Regions from separate parts of the Homo sapiens genome. Here regions 2 and 3 are each linked to region 1. Evidence: promoter capture Hi-C in human tissues and cell types (Jung and others, 2019). All regions are on one chromosome and are shown on one strand. Each heading gives the region's core, a stretch centred on a gene start or on the middle of the fragment in contact. The rest is flanking DNA. Distances are from core to core; before and after follow the strand shown. Region 1 holds the start of NEUROD6 (neuronal differentiation 6). Region 2 overlaps LOC107986781 (a long non-coding RNA gene). Region 3 overlaps LOC107986781 (a long non-coding RNA gene).

Region 1 (4,207 bases), core at 901-3,400:
TACTGGCATATCATGTCATCTATTCCTTGGATTTTGATTTTCATGTTTGTGATGCCTTTAATACAATGCAGCTTTTGGAGACTTTGCAAGTTTAGAATATGGTGCAATATACAAAATTCAAGACAGCACTGGCTGCTTTGTGGCTCATGACTCTGATACTTACGCTCCTTTACATTTAAAAATTAAATCATATGGGAGACCAACAAAATTCTGCAACTGGCCTTCCTATAGAAATTCTCTATGCTAATATAAAAACTGTGTGTACTTCTTGAATTAAAAGCCATCTGAAATATACTCAATGCACCCATTACCAAGTAATATATTCTTAAACAACAAATTTTACAATGGCTATGGTATATCTGGCTTTTTAAAAAACAGAAGCTAGGCCAACCTACCTATTTTAACTTAGGAGTTTATAGCCTGACTCTTATTTTAAATTTGCATTTTTTACTGGGCCATTAAGAGAGAAAAATTATCTGCTTTTACATATTTGATTCTCCTTTTTGCCAGCTTCCCCAACATTTCTAGAACTGTCCAGGAAAAGTCAAGCAACTTTTTGAAGAAGGTGGAAATGAGTGGGGTATGACAGAAGCAAAATTGAATTTAGTGTGAGGCCCTTGGTGCCAATTTGGATCCAAAGTGCATTAAAGCAGCAGAATTCTAAACCTTGCAAAACTGGGATTTATAAGGGGAATGCTAACACAGATTCAACAGTTACAGCTCTGCAGGGATTACTTTAATACCAAAAGCATACTCTCTCACTTTATAGAAAGAGATTACTCAGTTGCCAAACAACAAAGGTTGCGTTTATTTGTTTATTTTAAAACTTTTACTTATTTTTTTTAAGTGCACTTTTTACTTTACTGGCAGGCAATCCTGAAATCAAATGTCCTTTATAGGGGTGGGGGCACGGGAGAAGAGAAAACAGGAGGAAGGTGGAGTTTGTCTCTGCCTCCACAGTTCGTATTATCTATAAGGCTTTGCCAGCTTTGCTTAACTGTTTCCACCCTGCTTTTGTTAAGAAGAAACCAAAAGTGTGGAGCGGGGAAAAAAGATAAATCTGAAATACACCTGACAGGGAAAAACAACTGGACACTGATACAAGAACAAGAAGATATTTAAATTGATGTTGGTCTAGAGAAAAATGTGAGGACAAGATTTTTAAGAGAAAGAAAAAAATCTGAAAGTCAAAAAAAAAGAAAAAAAAACAAAAACAGGAAAGCTAATCTTTGATTAAAATACTCAGCAGAATGTCAGGGAGAGGAAGACAAACACCTAAGTGATAATTTTTATGTTTATTGTGTCTGAAATGAAATGAGAGGGAACAAGCAAGTTAACGCTGGGAAGAGATAAGGGACAATAAAAGAGTGAAGTTAGTGACTTTCTGCAGAGGACAAAGTATGTAGTTTGAAATCCTTAACAACGGACTTGCAGTGTCTCTGCAAAAGTTGGTGAAAGATACCAGCAAGTGTAGGAAGGGGAGTATTTGAGGATGTCTTTCACAGACCCCAGATGGAGAAGCTGTTCTTTTATTCCAAATGCCTAAGAAGCACAGAAGTCTTACATGTTAATAAGAGAACACAGAGACACACACTCATAAGTTACACGCTGTGAAACAAAACAAGCAAAGGAGACCTTTTTTGACCCCTGTTCACTTACACAAATCTTAGTTTGGTTAAACGTCTTAAGACCAGTTTCCAGCTCCTTTTCACGGCTTTCTTTCCCTGGGTACCCAGGTGCACAAATGGGATGGTGATCTTTACAAAACAACATCATCAACAACAAAAAAAACCTCTTGCTCACACAAAAGCCCACCTTGTAAATGAATGGAATATTAACGATCACCTAATACTTGCACCTTTGGCAGGGCGAAACTGAACACTAACACAGCTATTTCTACAGATTGCCAGTGAAACCGAAGCAGTTCGAGGAGAAATGCACCTACTGTACGTGAAATGCTGGTGCAGATTTTTTTCCTATCAGTCTAACCTTCTGTGTTGATGCATGAAGGCTGGTACCCACTTACAGGGATGCCAGATGATCAGTGCAGAATGAAGGTCCCAAGAGAGAGGATCACATGGCTCTCTCTGCCCTGTGACGTCACTAGCAGATGGCATGGGTACCAGCTCTGGCAGTTGGCATCAATGTCACTTTTTAGAGATCAATGAGATAGTGCAGATATACACAGATCTAGAGACTCCAGGAGACGATGCGACACTCAGCCTGAAAAGATTTGGAAGACCCAAAATGAAAACTGATTATTGAATGAAATTAAAACCTAAGGTAATATAAATAAAGATATACTTCAATTGATGCTGGCTTTGCATGCAAGTATTTAAAGATACAGTGTCACTGTCTTATAGTATTTATATGCTCTTTGCCATCTATAACTTATCATATTTCATTCTTATGATGTAATTATCACATACTTTCACTGCTATTATGTAACACTGCAAGTATGTGGACATTACTAAGAGTTTGTGTATGTGTTCGTGTGTATATGTGTGTGTTGAGGGGGCTGGAGATTGTTAAATTGAAAAGTCTCTGCTTTAATGTGCCTATTTGTTTGAAGACTTTAGATGAAAATACTTGCTGCTTCACCAGACAAAAACCAAAATGCATTTGAAACACAAATTATTTTCCCCTTTCATTTGGGATTCTGAACACACGTGCACAATTGCAGTCAGAATCCTTGGACCGTTCCTGTCAGATATTAGCTAGAGGGAGACTTCTATGGCTCGTAGAACAAAAACACTACGAGAGTGGTTTTTGTCCAGGATGATTTGAACAGCAGTAAACAGACAATTCTATTTGGAAAAAATTTAAATGTAAATAAAATCAGTCTCTATTTTTTTTAATTAAAAGAAATTGCTAGTGATTTTTATGTTTTAAATTTATTTATAGAGTTTATTCCAAATTAGCCTAATCCCCTTTTCTTTTTGAAGCCTGGGAAAATAGTGCCCTTTTACATAATTCTTTACTGATCAGAAAAAATCAGTTGAAAAATTGACTCTGATTATAATCTTTTCTTTAAATTTGTATATTCCCACACCCACTTATCTAAATTCACAGTTGTGTGATACAGCAAATAAAGTTAAGGTTTTGTTTGTTTGTTTGTTTGTTTTAAAAAAAGAACACAAATTTGTCAGCTAATGGAGAGATAGTCCATTTTAAAAACTGGTTTATCTTCTCATTTTGTGCTCAGGGGAATTGGAATTAATGAAATTCTGCATTGCAATTTCATGTTTTGCATTTGCTTGAATTCCACAATCTTTTTTGGGGGTATTAAAATCCAGTTTAAAGGCAAAGAGAAATGTAGATGGTAATGATATCACAATAATTATATGTTTCATTTTTATTTTCTTTTGATAATTTGCTCATATAAATAATCCTATTGAATGCATCAATGTCTTCATAATTACTTATCTTCACAAACTCAAAATTATATTTAATGTTAAAAAATCAGGCCCAGAATCAGTCTTTTTCACGTGTTTTTGTAATCTTATGATTAAATAATTAAATATGTTTTAAGTGTATAAACTTTAAAAATGAAAACTCTTTAAATATTGTGCTGGCATTTTTTCAGGTAATTTAAGATTAGAGAACCATGTTAACACTACCGTTTGATGAGTCTGTTGTAATGCCAGAATCCCAGATGTGCAGAAAGTTTTCTAGAGAATGCGAGGACCAGAAGCAAATTAAGAAGCCAGAAAGCTTTTCCAAACAGATTGTCCTTCGAGGAAAGAGCATCAAAAGGGCCCCTGGAGAAGAAACCGAGAAAGAAGAAGAGGAGGAAGACAGGGAAGAGGAAGATGAAAATGGGTTGCCTAGAAGGAGGGGTCTTAGGAAAAAAAAGACAACAAAGCTGCGATTGGAAAGGGTCAAGTTCAGGAGACAGGAAGCGAACGCGCGCGAGAGGAACAGGATGCACGGCCTCAACGACGCTCTGGACAACTTAAGAAAAGTGGTCCCCTGTTATTCTAAAACCCAGAAACTGTCCAAAATAGAGACTTTACGACTGGCCAAAAACTACATCTGGGCACTTTCTGAAATTCTGAGAATCGGCAAGAGACCAGATCTGCTCACATTCGTCCAAAACTTATGCAAAGGTCTTTCCCAGCCAACTACAAACTTGGTGGCAGGCTGCTTGCAGCTCAACGCCAGGAGTTTCCTGATGGGTCAGGGTGGGGAGGCTGCACACCACACA
Region 2 (4,207 bases), core at 666-3,165, 200 kb after region 1:
TGCACAGCAAAGAAAACAATCAATAAAGAGAATAGACAACACACAGAATGGGCTAAAATATTTGCAAACTACCCATCTGACAAGAGATTAATAACCAAAATATAAAAGGAGCTCAGACAACTCTATAGGAAAAAAATCTAATAAGCCAATTAAAAGATGGGCAAAATATTTGAGTAGACATTTCTCAGAGAAGACATACAAATGGGCAACAGGCATATAAAAACGTGTTCAACATCACTGATCATCAGAGAAATGCAAATGAAAACTACAATGACGTATCATCTCACTTCAGTTAAAATGGCTTTTATCCAAAGACAGGCAATACAAATGCTGGCGAGGATGTGGAGAAAACCTCGTACGCTGTTGGTGGGAATGTAAATTAAGACCACCACTATGGAGAGCAGTTTGGAGATTCCTCAAAAAACTAAAACTAGAGCTACCATATGATCCACTACTTGGTATATACCCCCAAAAAAGGAAATCAGTATATCAAAGAGATATCTGCACTCTTATGTTTACAGCAGCACTATTCACAATAGCCAAGATTTGGAAGCAACCCAAGTTCCACCAGCACACAAACAGATAAAGAAAATGTGGTACATATACACAATTGTGGACTATTCAGCCATAGAAAAAGAATAAGAGCCTGTCATTTGCAACAATATGGATGGAAATGGAGATCATTATGTTAAGTGAAATAAGCCAGGCACAGAAAGACAAATTTCACATGTTCTCAATTATTTGTGAGAGCTAAAAAATAAAACAATGAAACTCATGGAGCTAGAGAGTAGAAGGAAGGTTACCAGAGGCTGGGAAGGCTAATTGGACTGAGGGGTGGGCAGGAGGGGGAGGGGAATGTGGGGATGGTTAGTGGGTGCAAAAAAGTAGAAAGAATGAATAAGACCTAGTATTTGATAGCACAATAGAGTGACTATAGTCAATAATAATTTAATGATACATTTTAAGATAACTAAGAGTATAATTGGACTTTTTGTATTGCAAAGGATAAATGCATGAGGGGATAGATACCCCATTTACCCTAATGTAATTATTACACATTGCATGCCTGTATCAAAATATCTTATGTACCCCAGAAATATGTACTCCTACTGCATACTCACAATTAAAAATAAAAAATTTTTAAAGAAAAAAATAAAATAAAATAAATGTTAATCTCATCCAAAAACATTCTCATAGAAATACACAGAATAATGTTTAACCAACTATCTAGAAACTGAGCCCAGCCAAGTTGATACACACAATTAACCATCACATTTCCTAATACTGAACAATTCTAACATTATCAGAATAAACACAATTCATGGAATATTATTTGCATCGATCTGCTACTGAATTCTTTTCACAATTTTTACATCAATATTCAAAATAAAGATTTATCTATCATTTTCTATTTCCTCTTTGACAGGCTTGATATTAGCATGTTTTTCACATCATCAGATGAATGTGAAGGATTTTTCTTTTTTTCCATTCTATTCTGCAGATATTTAAAGTGCATTAAAGTTCCATGTTCAGCAAAGTTATGGTCATATAGTTTCATGAAATCATCTGGGCCTGGTGCATTTTGTGGAGGCTAGCAGTAACTCTTTGGCAAATTTCTCTATTTCTTCTACTGTCTTTGGCCTATATATGTTTTAACTCTTTTAAGATACATTTTGGGCCGGGTGCGGTGGCTCACGCCTGTAATCCCAGCATTTTCGGAGACTGAGGCGGGTGGATCACCTGAGGTCAGAAGTTCGAGACCAGCCTGACCAACAAGGCGAAACCCGTCTCTACTAAAAAGACAAAGATTAGCTGGGCGTGGTGGCCAGTGCCTGTTAGTGCTAGCTACTCGGGAGGCTGAGACAGGAGAATTGCTTGAACCCGGGAGGCGGAGCCTGCAGTGAGCCGAGATCACACCACTGCACTCCAGCCTGGGCGACAGATCAAGACTCTGTCTCAAAAAAAAAAAAAAAAAAAGGCCAAGCGCGGTGCTCACGTCTGTAATCTCAGCACTTTGGGAGGCCGAGGCGGGCAGATCACGAGGTCAGGAGATCGAGACCATCCTGGCTAACACGGTGAAACCAGGTCTCTACTAAAAATACAAAAAATTAGCCGGGCGTGGTGGCGGGCGCCTGTAGTCCCAGATACAGGTTGAGGTAGGAGAATGGCGTGAACCCGGGAGGCGGACGTTACAGTGAGCCGAGATGGCGCCACTGCACTCCAGCCTGAGAGACAGAGCAAGACTCCATTTCAAAAAAAAAAGATACATTTTGTTACTTCATATTTTCCTATAATGTCAACCAATTTCATATAGGTATATTTGTAAATATTAAGCAAAAATCATGTTATGCTGGTTCATTTACTTTCCTCTGGTTTTGCAATTAGTTCTACATTGTCATTTCTAATACATGGTTTTAGGTATTCCTTTTAAAAAACGATTAGATGACCTAATAGTTTATATATTTCTCTGATTTTTCAAACAAACTCATGCATTTATTTAGTTTCTATAAATGTTTCTAGTTTCTAACATATACATTTCTGCTTTTATTTTTTCTGCTTTTCTTGGGTTCGATTATTTTACTCCTAACTTTTTAATTCAATACTTATTTTTTATGACCATAAGTATGTGGAGTGTATTTTTTTCAAGTTCTTTCCAACTATTATTGGATTATACTATTCAAAAAATGCATACACATAGAACAAAGTTTTCTAAGAAAGTACATTAAATCTATGTTCTATTTTCAAGGCTACTGAAATAGTAGCCTCGACATATATAAAAGACATGAATAGTAGCCTTGAAATATATAAAAGATGGGTGATCATTTCCTTTTGTTACTCTTTGGAAATAATGGCAAAACAGCATAATAACAGTATAGCTTATGGCTGTGAACTTGGACTCTGCCATCTTGCAGCTCTGGATTAAACTCTCGACCTTATTACTTACCTGCTGTGCGATTTTTGGGAGGTTACTTATATTCCCTGGGCTTCTGTGTCCTTACCTGAAAAAATAAGGATTTAAAAAACAAAAAAGATATTTATTACAGAGGACTGTGGCAAGAGGTGAACCTGGCTGGGCTTTTGGGTAGGGTGGGGACTTGGAGAACTTTTCTGTCTAGCTAAAGGATTGTAAATGCACCAATCAGCACTCTGTCAAAACGGACCAATCAGCTCCCTGTAAAATGGACCAATCAGCTCTCTGTAAAATGGCCCAGTCAGCAGGATGTGGGTGGGGCCAAGTAAGGGAATAAACGCAGGCCACCCAAGCCAGCGGCTGCAACCTGCTCGGATGCCCTTCCACAGCGTGGAAGCTTTGTTTTTTTGTTCCTTGCAATAATTGTTGCTGCAGCTCGCTTTTTGGATCTGCGCCACTTTTATGAGCTGTAAGGCTCACTGGGAAGGTCTGCAGCTTTACTCCTGAAGGCAGCGAGACCACGAACCCGCCAGAAGAAACAAACTCCAGACACATCTAAACATCTGAAGGAACAAAGTCTGGACACACCATTTTTAAGAACTGTAATGCTCAGCGCGAGGGTCCGCAACGTTATTCTTGAAGTCAGCGAGACCGAGAACCCACTGGAAGGAACCGATTCTGGACACATCAGGATGATGAAAAGTAAAAATCATTTTGAAAAGCATAGAACAGTGCTTTGTCACACAAGTTCAATTACTGTATTTGCTTGTTTATGAAGTAAGTGAATATTACACTTATGGTTTATTTCAGAAGGCTGATAGCATATCAATATTGATTTACAGAGGTCTGGACAAGAAGGCCTGGTTCAAACCCATGACAGAAATGGAGCCTATTCATTCACATATTTGTGAGGGTCCATACCTCCTATCAATGGTTTTCAATGGCCCTTGGAATAGAGTCTCCAGTGGCTCCAATATCTCCAGTTACTTCCATTGGCCTGGGGAGAGAGTACAAACTCCCAGGTGCAGCTCTGCACACCACGGTCCCTAGTCACATCTCCCAACCTTCATTCCCATTCTAAGAAAACTTTCAGTTTCTCAAAAAAGCCATGTTCTCTCTGCAGCTTTCTCTATTACAGGGTTTCTCAAGCTTAGCACTACTAATATTTGGAAGTTAATATTTGTTGTGGGGGGACTGTCCTGGGCATCGCCGGATGTTTAGAGCATCCTTGGATTTCCCCACTAGATGTCAGGAGAAAACCCCACTCCTTCCCCAGAGCGTAACAACCAAAAATGT
Region 3 (4,207 bases), core at 1,275-3,774, 170 kb after region 1:
GTCCCAAAAGGTTACATCTAGATGTCTCTTTTACAATCAGAATGAATCGGTTTAATAACCTCAACTGCTGGTTTGTTTCGTTTCATTTTAAACTAGCTGATTCCCATTCTGAATGAAAGTTTATATATGGGCAGACCCTCTTTGCTGCACAAAGCTAGAGAAGACCGTAAGTCAGTATTCTTACACTGTTGTGAGGCTATCAGTCATTCCTTTGAGAACCTAATTAAAGATACAGAATCTCTTCGTAGACTGTCACGTGTGCAAGTCCCCACATCCATGCACATGCATGCACATACACATAAATGCAGACATAGACCTCTCGTTAAAAATTCTTGCTCTAAACAATTTTCCACAGTGACTCACATTCCCACAGTTTGATCGCATTTGGTATGCATTCACATGAGCTTATGCACGTTGAAGCAAATTAAATACAGTCCCAAGAATCCTTGCAGGTGTCATTCCTGAAAGGCACTCAAGTGCAGGTTTCAGTTAAGAAATGAAGCAAAGTGTGGGTGAGCAAGGCAGCACAGCTTGGAGGGTAGAGCATGAGCCTCCGGTCACATGGCAGTGTATCTGCTGTGTCACTTTGGGCGAGTTACTTTAGCTCAGTTTTCTCAGGTGTGAAAAGGAGATAAAATAGTAGCACTGCATAGGATAGATACTGCCCAACATCTCAAGCACTTGGTAAGCTCTCGAAAAATTAACAATTATTATTTATGCTTTAATTGACTCAAACTATGAATCCTTTATTACTTGGCTATTCTGTGCTCTTTTATTTTCTCAAACCTTATGATTCAGAAACACATATTCGTGAGAAGAGAAAGGGAACTGAGAATTCCGTCCAAGCACAGCCCAAACAAGGGATCATCCAGTCTTTCCTGAATACTTGCAATGTGACCTCTAAGTTCCCTTATCGTGATAACTTTCATGAGCAGCTAAAGTCTCATGGTTCTCCTACGCTAAAGACTCCTAAGCAGCCCCTTCCAATTTAGGACAGGTCCTCTTTCATTAAACTGAAATCTTTCTCTCTTATACCTGCCACCATTATTCCTAATTTGCTGCTTAGAAGTGAGTAGAATCAGCATGAAAAGTGTCCAGAAGGCAGAGACATATTCATATTCTTCTCTACGTGGCCCCAGCATCATGCATGGTGCCCAACCCTGAGTTTACGCTCAGTTTTTGTTTAATCTATTAAGGCTTTAAATATCTGAATGTAGCCATGAGGTACCTCCATAGCCTTAAATGTCCCTTCTCAAAACCAATGTTCTCCTATTTCTTCAAAATTCCCACAGAACATAGTGCCCAGACTGTTCACCATCTAAGTGGTCCTTTGGTTGAGCACAATATTCCAGGGGCAGTCTGACAGGTTAGAGATGTATCATCAACCTTCTTCTGTTCACTCCATTCATTCACTCACTCAATAGCTCATTCAACAAAGAACACCTTATATGCTTATTCCCAGAAAATTCTAGGAGATTCCAAAGTGAGAATTATGACTTGTATACAGCTCAACACACTTGGCTGTTGACTAATGCTTGCATTTCCCTTCAGGAAGAAGTCACGATAATAGTTCTTTCTTTCTTTCTTTCTTTCTTTTTGAGACAAAGTCTCACTCTGTTGCCCAGGCTGAAGTGCAGTGGCACGATCTCGGCTCACTGCAACCTCTACCTCCCGGGTTCAAGCAATTCTCCTGCCTCAGCCTCCTGTGTAGCTGGGATTACAGGTGCCTGACACACCTGGCTAATTTTTGCATTTTTAGTAGAGACAGGGTTTCACCATGTTGGCCAGGCTGGTCTCAAACTCCTGACCTCAGGTGATCTGCCTGTCTCGGCTTCCCAAAGTGCTGGGATTACAGGCATGAGCCACCATGCCCGGCTCGTGCTAGTTCTTTCTAAATCCACCCTGACACTAATTTCAGTTCACATGGATCATCAAATCAGTTTTTGTTCCTCGCATTGGATGTTGAGCTTCTGTTAATGTTCCTGATTGACGTAATCTTTCTCCAAAATTAATATTTTTAAAAGAAAGCTTATTTTTTCTTTCTTTCACAGTTGTACATTTATTATGCCTCCTGGTACAGCTTCTAGAGATTGCTAATCTTTCTGTTTTTCCCTTCACACAATGGGCAACATACATCTCCTCCTCTTTCAACCTATGTAGTTGCAGAAGAATAAGTCAGGCTTTCCCAGAGGAACTCTACATTCAAATATCAATCACCAGGAACCACAGGGGAAGAGGAAATAAAAGAAATGAAAGAAGAAATGTTTTGCTAAGTAGAGATTTTTTTAAAGAAACTACTTCCATACATTTGCAGGCAAGTCAGCTACAGGAATGCCTAAAAGTTTGTTATCCTCCCAAGGAACAGCTGACAGGTTTAATTTTAACACAATCCTTGAAAGAGCTTAGGGAGTCCAGGATAAACGGTTGTGCTATAAATCTGTGATACAACAGGACAGGATGGGTGTGTGCCCCCTAATAAATATTGATACTGGTTCCCAGACTTTCATATAATGACTATTTTCAAAGGGAGAGTCTTTTACCTCAATGCTTAGACTGACAGGCAATGATGTGGAAGCTCTTTCATCAACAAAATGGGTGGAGAAACACTAGCATAATTAACTCCTGTAGCTGCTTTTTTTTTTTAGACTTGTGATCCCACAACTCACAATTCACTGATTCTCTCTCTGAAGTAACTTACATTTCCCAGGTGATCAGACAAGGTCTACCAACTTCAAGGTCAAACCACCAACCAGTGAGAGATTTGAAGTCAGGCTCCATCTGAGATTGTGGCTGGGGCAGAGGGAAGCACAGGGTTTAGCAAGTTTGACTCATTGCAGGGCCAATGAAGATCCAAAGGAGAAACAAGGTGTCCATGTGGAGACCCTGGAGAGACAAAAATTGCTGCCCCAGCAGCTGCCCTCTTCTGTCACCATGTGTAAACCCACACATGAAGGAAGCCACCAAGCATTCCAAGCACCTGGGGCTGTTCCTGCTTACATAATTTCATAGAGAACAAATGCAAAGCCAGGGAAACCTGGAGTACAGCCCCAGGGGACCTGAAGAGGAAAGCAAATGAGATTCAGGGGGTGTTTTCAACTCTTTTTCCCCCATGAAGGTTCTGACTGTGGAAGAAAGAAGAGGTTGGAATAAGTGAACAACTGGATTGGACTTTTAAGCTACATTTTACAATGCCAACATGATGACTACCAGCATAAGGCAGAGGGTGTCTAACGAGAACTGATAAGGAATTTTTGGCAATATACTCCTGAAGAGAGCAAGAAAGCTTTAAACTGTGCAAGAGAGAAAGTGCCCGCATGAAATGGTAAAAACAGAGTAGGATGGACAAATCAACATTAATACATAAAAAAAAACACACTTGGCTTCTTCAAAGAGCACATAAAAAAATCCTAAACTCTTACTATTTTTAGTAAATTATTATGTAAACAATCACTAGTATGAAACTCATGACTTGAATTCAGCAGGGGAACAGTGTACATTGTCCATTTCAAACGAATTATATATTTTTTAATAAGACCAAATGAGAATGCATAAAGAGAGGCTGCCAGCTAAAATCATTAATTCATTCATTCAATAAAGATTTACCACTTAACAACTCCATGTCACATTTTGTGCTCATTAAAATCTTATGTAGGCACAGCAGCTATGTAAGTAAATATTACTTTTTTTATTTTTTTTTAGACAGAGTCTCACTCTGTCGTCCAGGCTGGAGTACAGTGGTGTGATCTCAACTCTCAGCTCACTGCAACCTTCACCTCCCGGGTTCAAGTGATTCTCCTGCCTCAGCCTCCCGAGTAGGTGGGATTACAGGCACCCACCACCGCGTCCTGCTAATTTTTGTATTTTTAGTAGAGACGGGGTTTCACCATGTTGGCCAGGCTGGTCTCAAACTCCTGACCTCAAGTGATCTGCCTACCTCAGTCTCCCAAAGTGCTGGGATTACAGGCATGAGCCACTGCACCCAGCCTCAATATTACTTCTTGCTCTTATAAAGCTTATTAGCTAGTGAGTACCTCACCATACATGTCTTTAAAAAAGAGATACAACTGAAGTCAAAGAGGGGAAAAAGGTTCTAATAAAGATCATGTGGAGAAAAGACCCCAATGGACAGAGTCAAAGTGAGAAAGCTCGCAGGTCAGCTAAGCAAGTGTTCAGTGCAACCCAATGCAATGATTAGAAGAATCCTAAA

Evidence for each region. Contacts are between HindIII fragments. The study calls those that stand out against the background at their distance.
Region 2: a contact is called between a fragment that was not itself captured here and the fragment with the promoter of NEUROD6 in region 1, in 2 of the 25 tissues and cell types used here (hippocampus and mesendoderm cells).
Region 3: a contact is called between a fragment that was not itself captured here and the fragment with the promoter of NEUROD6 in region 1, in 4 of the 25 tissues and cell types used here (H1 embryonic stem cells, dorsolateral prefrontal cortex, liver and 1 more).

The regions. Positions count from the first base shown.
Region 1 is chr7:31,338,669-31,342,875 of GRCh38, reverse strand. It overlaps NEUROD6 (neuronal differentiation 6), which reads left to right and starts at 2,150. Exons shown (of 2, transcript NM_022728.4): 1 at 2,150-2,283; 2 at 3,587-4,207. The coding sequence starts at 3,608. The HindIII fragment of the contact is 16,561 bases long and covers 1-4,207 here.
Region 2 is chr7:31,136,427-31,140,633 of GRCh38, reverse strand. It overlaps LOC107986781 (a long non-coding RNA gene), which reads right to left. Exons shown (of 3, transcript XR_001745159.1): 2 at 2,945-2,999. Among named protein-coding and RNA genes, the nearest start is that of ADCYAP1R1, 86 kb to the right of the region's middle. The HindIII fragment of the contact is 7,356 bases long and covers 1-4,207 here.
Region 3 is chr7:31,167,738-31,171,944 of GRCh38, reverse strand. All of the region lies in intron 2 of LOC107986781 (a long non-coding RNA gene), which reads right to left. Among named protein-coding and RNA genes, the nearest start is that of ADCYAP1R1, 120 kb to the right of the region's middle. The HindIII fragment of the contact is 5,984 bases long and covers 1-4,207 here.